3 separate regions of the Homo sapiens genome follow, and regions 2 and 3 are each linked to region 1. The links are contacts of gene promoters, found by promoter capture Hi-C in blood cells and fetal thymus (Javierre and others, 2016). All regions are on one chromosome and are shown on one strand. The core of a region is centred on a gene start or on the middle of the fragment in contact, and the rest is flanking DNA. Distances in the headings are between cores, read along the strand shown. Region 1 holds the start of LMO2 (LIM domain only 2). Region 2 overlaps CAT (catalase). Region 3 has its middle 13 kb from the start of CAT.

Region 1 (4,144 bases), core at 627-3,126:
GTGGGTAAGCAGGTCCAATGTGAACTCAATTTTACATTGAGAAAGAGAAAGCAAGAGTGAGTGGGCTGCTAAGACTGTTGCTTCATGGTTTCCCCTAAGCCCCAGAAATAGAAAGGCAGACTTCCGACTGGCAGAGCCCGTATGCTAACCACCAGACCACACTGCCAGATAAGAAAAATGTTCGATTGTGTCATACTTCCCTCATTGGCTCCAGTGTCTGAAAATGGCCCTGAATTTCAGAGAGTCTTACCATGACCCAGGGATTTAGAGAGGATCGAAGAGGGAGGACAAAGGAATCAGGCACCTTCTCTCTCTCTTTTCTGGGGTAAATTTATTTTCAACCACAAAAGTAAAGGAAAGAAAAAGTCACAACAGATGAGTTATGAGCTAACTTTCTGATTTGCACATGTAAGAGAAAGAAATGAACTGGATATCATTAGACATTGAGAAAGGGAGTCTGCAAGCTAGCAATGTATCTTCGGCCTTTTTGATTTACACGTGTTTATTTATGAGTACCTACTGTGTGCCAGGCATGATGCTTGGTGCTGCCAATTCAAAGAGAAATAAGACACCTCCTTGCAAAGTGAGAAGGCAGAACTAGATTCAGATTCACCTAGATTTCAACTCTTGTGCTCAGGCCACCACCACCACCATGGAAACAATTTTGCTTGACTCTCCCGGCGCAGCCGCGGCAGGCGTGTGTGTTGTCAGACACTGCAGGAAGAGTGATGGCCTGGGTGTTGACAGGCTCCTAATTGGAAGGTAGGAGGTGCCACCAGAGATCAGCTATAAAAGATATCTTTGGACTGGGGTGGGCTGCTAATGCTTGGAAGAGACTTGTGGGTGAGGCCCGGTGAGCTGTCACCTCGGAATTGGGCCTTGCCCAGCAGACAGACATGCATGCGGGGGAGGTAGCTGACAGACAGGGGCGCATGGGGAAGCAGCCATTCCAGAGAACTGCAACAGCAGATTGCAAACCAGGACTTCAGGACTCAGAGGGGGACAAGGAAAGGAGAGCCTATAGTGGCCCCAAAGCCCAGGGTCAGAGGCAGGGCCAGGAGAGCAGCTGACAAGAGCTTTATGGTAAGGACAAAAGAGAAGACAGCCGGAGTCTCCTTTTATTCAGCTCATAAAGACCCAACTTCTGTGCACTTATAACTGTTCAGACCCTGAGGGGTTCAAAAAAAGAACCGTGTTAGGAGAATTCAATATTTAATTAAGAGATGATCAGATCCGTGCACCGAAATTATTGCTGGGTAAGACAATACTGTGTGTGTTACATAGCATTGGAACTTAGGAAAGCTCTTTCCTTGTGTTGTTTAATTTAATCCACTCAACAACCCTGCAAAGTGGGTACCATTGTCCCTGTTTTTTATGAATGAGGGGGTGAGGTGCTGAGAAGCTGTGTACGTTATTTGAGTTTGTCTGGCTAGTCAGTGGCTGAGCCAAGTTCCAATCCAGGTCATGTGAGCCTCTGAACTTTCTGATAAAACCTGCAGACCCCCTTAACTGGGATAATATAGTCATGCATTAAGCAAGAAGGAGAAGTAAATACAGGCTGATGGTGTAGGGGAGAAATTCAAAGGGAGAAGGCCTAGGAGGGAGAGGGAGCTATGTGTGAACAGAACCAAAGATGGCCTCTGGGAATTGGAAGGTCTCTTGGAATTCGTCCAAACTGAGGATCACAAGTCTCCACATTCTGAGTAGGAGGATGAGGGTCTGAGTTAGGATTTGGGTCCTGCAGGGCTTGCTAAGGAATCCCCTGATGGCCTAGGATTCCACGCAGAGCACATCTGGTGTGAGAGAGCTCGCTGCAAGGGTGAAGGCTCCGCCCTATCAGATAGACAACCAGGCCACCAAGAGGCCCAGCCCTCCAAACCCTGGATTTGCAACATCCTCAAAGAACAGCAACGGGCCTTGAGCAGAATTGAGAAGGAAATACCCCCACCTGCCCTCAGCCGTTAAGTGGGCTTTGCTATTCACAAGGGCCTCTGGGTGTCCTGGCAGAGAGGGGAGATGGCACAGGCACCAGGTGCTAGGGTGCCAGGGCCTCCCGAGAAGGAACAGGTGCAAAGCAGGCAATTAGCCCAGAAGGTATCCGTGGGGCAGGCAGCCTAGATCTGATGGGGGAAGCCACCAGGATTACATCATCTGCTGGTGAGTAGGCTTCATTAATTCTCTGATGAATGGACGATTGCAAGGGAACTTTTTTCATCTTCAAGGAGCCAGAAGAAGTGGTGATTAAATTGGTCTTTTAAAATAAAAAGACTCCAAAGGGGTACAAGTCTTCAAGCTTCCCCTGTGGTGTTCCGGGCACTCTGGCTTCTCTTTCGGAGGGAGGAAGAGCATCTATTCATAGGCTGTGACTTGGAGAGGCCCCACGGTGAGTCAGGCGCTTGCTGTGTGAGCCGCTGGTTGCTAATGTCTTCGGGAACTGCTAATTTACCCATCTAATTTGTTCCTGTACACTGGCCACAAAGGGAGACCACTCAATTATTCTGATCCAAAAGAGAGGCTTGTGTTTACCATGATCTCCCCAGCAACTGTGTGAGTGTGTGTGCATGTGTGTGTGTGTGTGTGTGTGTGTGTGTGTGTGTGTGTGTGTTTGCCTAACAACCTTAGGCAATGACGAAGAGGTGGGGCTGCTGCCCTTGTTAGCATTTTCAAACACATTCCAGTTCTGAGTTGAGGGCAAAGATTGTAATGGGGTGCTTCAGAGAAGCCTTGGCTCCCAAGGAGGTTATAACTTCAAAGGGTGTTTTTGAAAAACCAAGGCGGATGAGGAAAGTGGCTACAAGTTCCTTCCATCACAGAGGATCAATGAAGGGGAACAAAGATTTGGGAGCATCTACTTTGTGCCAGGTACTGTGCTTGGGTTTTACACGTCTTCTCTTGTTGACTTTGCATAACTCCCCTTTGAAGCAGATATTACTCCAGGTTCTTGCCGTAATGTTTCAGCTTAAAGAAAACCAACCCATACTTCTTTAGGTTGCCCTGAAAAGGTGAATCTTCTGTGAAGCCTTTTCTGTCTTTATCTGTTAAAATTAATTAAGCTCTTGTTTGTGCTCCCAGAAAATCACTTTAGACCTTAGAAAGATGGCAGCCTCAGTTTTCTCATTTGTAATATAGGGGTACCCATAGGGTCATTGTGAGAAATAATAGAAATAAATCATGGAAGTGCTTGGATAGTAGCTGGTACTTAGCCCTCATCAGTCATCATTGTCATTGTTGTTAAGAGTAATAATAATAATAATATCACTTATTATAATTACTCACCTCTAGGTTTTTAAAAAACTTACAGGCCGGGCACATTGGCTAACGCCTGTAATCTTAGCACTTTGGGAGGCCAAGGCAGGCAGATCGCCTGAGGTCAGCAGTTCAAGACCAGCTTGGGCAACATGGTGAAACCCTGTCTCTACTAAAAATATGAAAATTAGCCACGCGTGGTGGCTCATCCCTGTAATCCCAGCTACTCGGGAGGCTGAGAGAGGAGAATTGCTTGAACCCGGGAGGCGGAGGTTGCAGTGAGCCAAGATGGCACTATTGCACTCCAGCCTGGGTGACGAGAAACTCCATCTCATAAAAACAAAAACAAAAACAAAAAAACTTACATAAATTTATGGGGAACAAGTACAATTTTGTGACAAGCGTAAATTGCATAGTCTTGAAGTCAGGGCTTCTAAGGTATCTATCACCAGATTGATATCTATTGGTATCTATCACCAGATTGATATCTATTGATATCTATCACCAGATTGATATCACCACATTGTACCTATTAATTAATTTCTCATCATCCTCCCCCCACCCTTCTGAGTCTCCAGTGTATATTATTCCATACCCTAATGCCATGTGTTCACATTATTTAGCTCCCACTTATGAGTGAACAGTGTGATATTTGTCTTTCAGTGTCTGACTTTTTTAACTTAAGATAACAGCTTCCAGTTCTACCCATGTGGCTGCGAGAGACATGATTTCATTCTTTTTTATGGCTGAATAATATTCCATTGCATATATATACACCACAGTTTTAAATCCAATCATCCATTGATGGACACTTAGGTTGATTCCACATCTTTGCTATTGTGACTAGTGCTACGATAAACATACAAGTGCAGGTATCTAATTATTTCTTTTCCTTTGG
Region 2 (4,144 bases), core at 814-3,313, 550 kb before region 1:
AATTTGCAAAACTAATAAACAAGACCCTCTCACACACTAGTAAATGCCCTTGCCACTAGAGTTATATCTTCATCCAAGTAGGAAGAGGCCAACATGGCAGCAGGGAGAAACTATGAGTGCCAGCACTAGAGCCTGGGTCCAACTTCCAGTTCTACCAATTACCAGCTATGTAGCTGCTGGTAAGTTACTTATTTATGAGTCTCCATTTTCATCTGCAAAATAGAATAATAAGTACCTCCTAAGGTTAACACATGAATTAAAAGAGTTAAATGTAAAATGCAAGCCACACATTCAACACATATATGCTGTCACTTCACTGGCTGTGAGAACATGACCTCGCAGCAGAAGGAGCAAAGCATTTGAAGTTTTATTTTTCTAGTAATCATGACAGATGCATACTCCTCCATCCACACTCTCTCACTCTACCATCTCTGTCCCTAAACCCATCTAGCAAAGCCCCTTCTAAACTGTCACAGTTTAAGGGTCCAATCAACACTTACCACCCAGTCACATCACTCTTTTGAAGATACATATGTTGCTAATACGTGTGACCCTCTGTGACGTGCTAATACGTGTTACCCTCTGTAGGTTTATTTTTAATTTAAAGTAGAAAATGAACCAGAAAAAAAATTTCTACTTTCTAAAGTAGAAAATGAACCAGAAAAAGAGCAATTTCACCTTTAGTTTAAACCTAAAGCCTTGGTTTTCAACCTTGGCAATGCACTAAAATCACCTGAGGAGCTTTTTAAAGCCTCCTGATGCCTGGGCCATCCCCCCTAGAGATGTCTGATAGAAGTGCCCTGGGTGAGGCCTGGGCTATTTTTAAATGACTCCTGTTCAAGCTAGGATTGAAAACCACTAACCTAGAACTATTGGGTGATAACAAAGTTAAAATAATTAGAGAGCCAGAGCAAACCAAATCTGTTCACTCTTTAAATGCTCTTTTCAACTTACAAACAAGGTATTTAAGGAAGCCTTTAAAAAATAAAGGGACATCCAGGCTGGGCGCGGTGGCTCACACCTGTAATCCCAACACTTCGGGAGGCTGCAGCAGGTGGATCACCTGAGATCAGGAGTTCGAGACCAGCCTGACCAACATGGAGAAACCCTGTCTCTACTAAAAATACAAAATTAGTACCAGGTGCAGTGGAGGGGTGACTGTAGTCCCAGCTACTCGGGAGGCTGAGGCAGGAGAATCGCTTGAACCCAGCAGGCGGAGGTTGCGGTGAGCTGAGATCGTGCCATTGCACTCCAGCCTGGGCAACAGCAGCGAAACTCCGTCTCAAAAAAAAAAAGGGGGGGACATCCCATAAAAGGTACAAGTATGAGAAAAGATACCAAGAAGCTCAGTAAAAGGAACGCTAAACAGATGAGAGTGTTATTTACATGCCAGCATTCTTAACGTGGGGAGGGAGCTGCCCCTAAGGCAGAGATGAGAGCACATCACATGTTCCCTTCTGGTTACCGGGTCAGGGTGATATGGTCAAGAATAAATACCACACCCAAAGGCAGCAGGTGCAGAGTTGGATAAATGAATAAAGTACTAAAGCTTGAGGTGGTCTTTCCTGATGACACTGACTATTAAGAGTGGGAATGCTGGAATTATGGCAGTCCTCCCTCCTGCCCAATGAAGGAATCCCCTCCTTAACATCAATCCTGTTAAGAAATGAAACCTGAGTTTTTAAGTTACAAATGGAGGCTTCAGAATCTCTTCCATTTCCCCACTCTAACAGTTAGATCAATTGTCCTCATTTATATAACAGCTTTCCCCACAAGCTCATGTATATACAATTTACCTTCAAAGCCAGTGGGGCAGGAAAGCTTCAACAGTCAGCAACAGAAAAGGGAAGCCAGGGAGCAAAAACTAGAAAGGAAAAGATCCCCCAACTTCAGGGGATGTTTAGCGCAACATTGGATAAGAGGAACTGATCTAAACTGAAAGATAGAGTATTAATATTAGAAGGTGAGGAGCAGGATGCGGTGTATTTAAGATGAAAATAATTAATGCAATGAAGATTTACTAGATGAAATGAGAGGGTGGGGCTAGAAAACGGACCACGCAAGTTATCTCACTTAAGCCTGTCAATAATCCAGAGATCAATATTATTAATCCCATTTAATGGGCGATACTACAAACTCAGAAAACTTAAGTAACTTTGCAGAGATGTCAGTGTTGTGGCACAGGTTTACTTGTTACATGTAACACGTAAGGACAGGCAAAGAGATTTCCTCCAACTTGCAATTATTGTTTTTAACTCAATGAATAACTTTAGAGCCAGAATATTTTTAAAGAGAGAAAAGCTTCTCTATGGCTGGATAATTTTAAGACCTCTCTCTGGAGAGGTCCTTGTTAACATGTTTACATCTTCCTGGCTGCTAGCTCCCATGACATCCATACGTACCTCTCCTGAACTGCTCTCTCTACCCTGCCCCACACCACTCATGAAGCAGGGCCAAGGGCATCTTCTTGTGCCCCATATAACAAAATATTGTAATTGCCTGTTTATGTCACTGTTTTTCTTTTTTTTTTTTTTTTTTTTTTTTTTTGAGATGGAGTCTCGCTCTATTGCCCAGGCTGGAGTGCAGTGGCATGGTCTCAGCTCACTGTAACCTCCACCTCCTCCCGGGTTCAAGCAATTCTCCCGTCTCAGCCTCCCAAGTAGTTGGGATTACAGGCGACCACCACCACACCCAGCTAATTTTTGTATTTTTAGTAAAGACAGGGTTCCATCATGTTGGCCAGGCTGATGATCTCAAACTCCTGACCTCAAGAAATCCGCCCATCTTGGCCTCCCAAAGTGCTGGGATTATAGGCGTGAGCCACCGCGCCCAGCCTGTCACTATTTTTCCTCTCTAGACTGTGTACTCCTTTTACATCTATATACCTGATCCCTAATACACTGCTCAATATACTAACAAACATAAAACAAATGTGTGTGGATTCAGCATGCAAATAAACTAAACCACGGACCAATATGATATGGCCAAGAGCCTTTCTAACAAGCAGGAGGAAGCAGCAACAGTCTATCCCTCTCCCTGCATCGCCCCTCCAAAAAATGAGAGAAATATTTTAATTTATAAATTCTGATCAAACACCTTTAGACACACTTGTTATGAAAACTGCCACAGAAATTAGCTTGGCTAAAAACTAGCACAATTATTAGAAGTAGGGACTTAAAGTAAAATTCTATTTTGACTTTGCTGCCTTTATAGGCTTCTTTTGGCCAGAGCTAATACATAAATGAAGAAGTTTTCCTGGGAGGAGTAAGGTTGGCTTCATCTGGTGAAATATTTTATCAACATATTACACTTTCCACTTAGTAGTTCCCTTCACTCACAGAAGTTTCAAGAACCTAAACATATTCTTCCACTTTTAATTAAAAGATTGGTTAATGCAAATTGCCCATCAGTCCCAGAGGAGTCATAATGACGTCTTTTCATTCTGTGATAAAGAATGTGCCTAGCGTTTTCTAGCAAATAACTGCCTAACATTCTCCATTTATTCAACAAAGATTCAAGTGCCTACAACGTATACACCCACGTACAGGAAACCAAAGACTGTCCTGACCTTCAAATTTCTTGGTCTGTGGGAAAATAATAAGGGTGGTCTAGATATTGACTGCTGTGGAAGCTAAAGCAATTCCGTCTTAGATACTGATCCACCATGCTGACTTCTGATTAACTCCAGTTTTAAGATTTCCAGTTTATCTATTATTCCTTGTGAAAGAGCCCCTATTTACTATAAATCCTGCCCTGAGGTCAAACAACCTTGACATTATCATACTTCAGTCATGCCATACCTCCCTTCTGAATCGCCCTTCCCTATGGTATTAAGCCCTGGGTCTGAGGGGTAATGGTATGGGATCCACCATCTTGTCTCGCCAACACGCAAGACACAGACATGGTTTCTGGTCCTAAGTCCCTACTAAACATTTCTTTCTGAGAAACTTGATTTGTCAGCCTCTTTCTTTGGCCTCTCAGCTTCCTCAGACTTTGGGGGTAGGTTTGCATAGACCTACCCACCATGCAAAAGCTAAAAAAAAGAAATGAAACCTTAAAAATTTCTGTCCCATCTCCCATAGTCTCTCCCACTGCACATAATGACTTAGCGATTCCATACCTAGGTATATTTCAGGAGAAATGA
Region 3 (4,144 bases), core at 715-3,214, 530 kb before region 1:
GGTGGTTCACACCTATAGTGCCAGCTACTCAGGAGGTTGAGGTGGGAGGATCAGTTGAGCCCAGGAGGTAGAGGTTGATCAGTCCACTGATGATAGCTCACTGCACTCCAACCTGGGCAAGACAGCAAGACCCTGTCTCAATAAATAAATAAGTAAGTTAAAAAGTAGGAATATATAAACAGTTAACCAGACAGGCTACACAGAGAAATGACCAAACTATTTTCTTAACCCTTATACATTATGAGATTTAATGTGTTAATACTTATAAAACCCTGAAGTCATCTGACAAAATGTACCCTAAGCTTGCCTTTTATTATCCTGAGATAAGGAATTACTTGACAATGAACATCGTTTCTGACTTTTTTATGACAGTATAATTGGTTGACATTAGTTTAATAAATATCAGTCACAATTTTCAAAATAGGCCCTGATTTTATGGCTGCCTTTGGTGATGTTTGGAACATGCCATCTCTTGCGCTATTAAGTTTACAGATTATTCTGTGTATTGTTCTGTTAGCAAGAACCCTAGCAACACAAGTCTTGATGTCTGAAGTTAACTAAGTGCAAGAAAGCACCTTATCTTATAACAACTTGCATTCCTCAAACATCTGAGCTTCTGTTGAGTGTCCTCAGTAATCATCAACCCTAAAGTAACCCTTGAGCAAGGGAAAGTAGGGTGTTGGAAAGGAGCTGGGGCAGCTGAAGCCCACGACAAAAAAAAAAAAAAAAAAAAAAAAAAAAAAAAGATGCCAAAAGTGCCAGTCATCAAAACTCTTGAGTGCTGTAATGAACGCTCCAGGGAGCATTGTAGTTGGGAGAATGATTCAGCAGTGGCTGACTCTAGGCTACATGGACAGATTCAACGAAGTTTATGGTCAAAAGCATTGCACTGGCTGGAGGCAGAGGAGGTGTGTGGTTTGTAACAGAAAAAGGCATTTGTCCTCCTTACATCATATTACCCTGTGTTATTACTCTCTGCCCCTCTCAAATATATCAACACGAAAGCTCTGTGACCTAAAGATGAAAAGAAATCATTTGCAAAGGTCAAACATTTTTGTGTTATGAAACACAAAAGTCTATGAAATCCACCACATACATTGTGAAACCAAAGTCAAGGTTCTATTTATTCTGTGCCAGTTCAGTGTAGGAAGAAAAAGAAGTGATGAGGCATATTTTTAAAGACAAAAAACTTAAAAAAAATGGACAAAATTATGACTGCAGACATGTGGAGAGTCCTATCTACACCCTGTCAGATGGTCCAAACACTCCACTCCCAACCATTTAGCCAAACTTTGCATCTGTTTATGGCTACATCTAGGAAATCAAAAGCAGATGACAACATCATCACTGCAGCCAATGTTTGTAGCAAATATTCCTTCTCTCCAAAGGCTTAGAAATTTGTGAACGTGGAGCCAGGAAGACGGAATCATAATTAAATGCAGATGTGCTATCATGTTATGCTATTATGCACCTAAAAGAAACAATGACCTGGAGTGCAAAACCAGTGTCTCCCTGAGAGAGCCCCAGATGGCACAGTCGGGCTAAGGACAGATTTCACTGTGGGGACCTGGCTGTGAAGGAAGGCCTAGAAGGAAACTAAAGAGATAAACATTGAGATTAGAGAGTCTACCTTCGTCAATTTAAAAAAAGAAGAAACAAAGATATTAGAGAAAACTCATATTGATCAAGACTAGATCTCAGTTCTGAAATTCGGAGGAAAGTACTGTTTGTCCAGAATAAAAGGAGGGAATTTGCAAAATCCAAAGAATAGTGGATAAGGCATGGATTAAAATAGCTTCAGGCCAGGCACAGTGGCTCACTCCTGTAATCCCAACACTTTGGGAGGCAGAAGCTAGAGGATCGCTTGAGCCCAGGAGTTTGAGACCAGCCTGGGCAACATAGTGAGACCCTGTCTCTAAAAAAAAAAATTAAAAATTAGCTGAGCATCATTGCACACGCCTGTAGTCCCAGTTACTCCAGAGGCTAAGGTGGGAGGATTGCTTGAGCCTAGGAGGTTGAGGCTGCCGTGAGCTGTGATTGTGCCACTACACTCCAGCCTGGGTGACAGAGTGAGACCCTGTCTCAAAAACAACAAATAAACAAAAAATAGCAGCTTCAGTAGAAGCACATTTATCCAGAGGTGGAGGGAAGGAGGCCTGGCTACAAGAAACCTTCATGCTCAACTGGCAAATTCAGCTCTGATTGTAAAGCATAAAAGGAAGTATTTTTAGAGCAATACTTACTCAGGAAACAGTAAAACTGAACATTGTGTTTCATCATAACTGGCTCTAACTTGCTGTGGCTGATTAGGACCATAAATTTTGAGTGATTCAGGTATGCCAGACCCTCAAAGAATCTAACTGAAAACTGTTTATTGACCAATGAACCACAGGACTTGTTTTAACCAACATACAGGCCTGTGGACTCTTTCCTCTCTATCCACAGTGCTAGTTTTCAATCCTTAATTTGTGGCCGTTAACAACCGCTGATTTGTACCCCCTCAGTGAAACTACTCAATCGACTTTTTTCTATAAAATATATTCCATTGTCTGGCAAGTTTTAAAAAAACACTTGATTTTTTTTAAGCACTGAGGACCTTTATATATATTTTTTTTTCAATATTTTATATATATTTTCAATAGCTTTAGGGGTACAAGTGGTTTTTGGTTTCATGGATAAATTGTATAGTGGTGAAGTCTGAATTTTCAGTGCACCCATCACCCAAGTAGTGTTCTTTGTACCCAATAAGCAGTTTGCCATCCCTCATTTCACTTCCACCCTCCCCCTTCTGAGTCTCAAATGTTCGTTATACCACTCTGTATGTCCTTGCATACACATAGCTTAGCTCCCACTTACAAGTGAGAAAACATGTGGTATTTGGTTTTCCACTCTTGAGTTACTTCACTTAGAATAATGGCCTCCAGTTTCATCCAATTTCCTGCAGAAGACCTTCTTTTGTTCTTTTTTATGACTGAGTAGCATTCCATGGTGTATGTAGACCATATTTTCTTTATCCATTCATCAGTTGACGAGCATTTAGGTTGATTCCGTATCTTTGCAATTGTGAATTGTGCTGCAGTAAACATATACATGCATGTATCTTTTTGATTTAATGACTTTTTTTTTCCTTTGAGTAAATAGCCAGTTGTGGGATTGCCAGATTGAATAGTAGATCTACTTTTAGTTTTTCAAGAAACTTCCATACTCTTTTCTGTAGAGGTTGTATTAATTTACATTCCCACCAGTAGCATATAAGAATTCCTTTTTCACCACATCCTTACCAACATCTGTTGTTTTTTGACTTTTTAATAATAGCCATTTTGGCTGGGGTAGGTGATATCTCATTGTGGTTTTAATTTGCATTCCCCGATGATTAGTAATGTTGCACTTTTTAAAAATATGTTTGTTGACCATTTGTATATCTTCTTTTGAGAAATGTCTATTCATGTTCTTTGCCCACTTTTTGATGGGATTATTTGCTTTTTTCTTGCTGATTTGTTTGAATTCCTTGTCGATTCTGGATATAAATCCTTTGTTGGATGCATGGTTTGCAACTATTCTCTCCCATTCTGTGGATTGTATGTTTACTCTGATTATTATTATTATTATTGCTGTACAGAAGCTTTTTCGTTTTTGTTGCATTTGCTTTTGGGGTCAGTCATAAATTTTTTATGTTAACCAATGTCCAGAGGAGTTTTTTCAAGGTTTTCTTCTAGAATTTTTATGGTTTCAGGTCTTAAAGATCTTAATCAAATATCTTTTTTAAAAAAGAGGAACGTGAACAAGAAAGATAAAGGATGATGTGTGTAAAAAGCTAAAGGTGACTGTAGCCCCTAAAAGCTGTATAAAGAAGGGTAGGGTTTGGAAAGTGCCAGCTAATGCTTCCCCATCCCAGGTGTGAGGCAAGGACAATGGAAGGGATGTGAGTACACAGGGATCATTAAGAGACATGTGGCCTCTTTGGATGTAATTCCTGGAGTCCCAGCCACCACTACTGGCCCCTACCTCCATCCCAATGCTTTGGATTTCCTGGTTACAACAGCAGTGGGAAAACTGAAAATCCATTCTTTTTTTTTTTTTTTTTTTTTTTTGAGATGGTGTCTTACTCTGTCACCCAAGCTGAAGTTCAGTGACACCATCTTGG

What was found. The method cuts DNA at HindIII sites, captures the fragments that hold promoters and counts their contacts. A CHiCAGO score of 5 or more calls a contact.
Region 2: a contact is called between a fragment that was not itself captured here and the fragment with the promoter of LMO2 in region 1, in 1 of 17 cell types (erythroblasts). The highest score is 5.9, in erythroblasts.
Region 3: a fragment that was not itself captured here is called in contact with the fragment with the promoter of LMO2 in region 1 in 1 of 17 cell types (erythroblasts); the score reaches 7.5 in erythroblasts.

The regions. Positions count from the first base shown.
Region 1 is chr11:33,889,808-33,893,951 of GRCh38, reverse strand. It overlaps LMO2 (LIM domain only 2), which reads left to right and starts at 1,876. Exons shown (of 6, transcript NM_005574.4): 1 at 1,876-2,157. It overlaps LOC105376621 (a long non-coding RNA gene), which reads right to left and starts at 6. Exons shown (of 3, transcript XR_931176.3): 1 at 1-6. RefSeq lists an enhancer at 2,311-2,420. The HindIII fragment of the contact is 4,099 bases long and covers 1-2,295 here.
Region 2 is chr11:34,443,899-34,448,042 of GRCh38, reverse strand. The region is part of intron 1 of CAT (catalase); the gene reads right to left. Among named protein-coding and RNA genes, the nearest start is that of CAT, 7.0 kb to the right of the region's middle. The HindIII fragment of the contact is 480 bases long and covers 1,824-2,303 here.
Region 3 is chr11:34,424,207-34,428,350 of GRCh38, reverse strand. No RefSeq gene overlaps it. Among named protein-coding and RNA genes, the nearest start is that of CAT, 13 kb to the left of the region's middle. The HindIII fragment of the contact is 3,320 bases long and covers 305-3,624 here.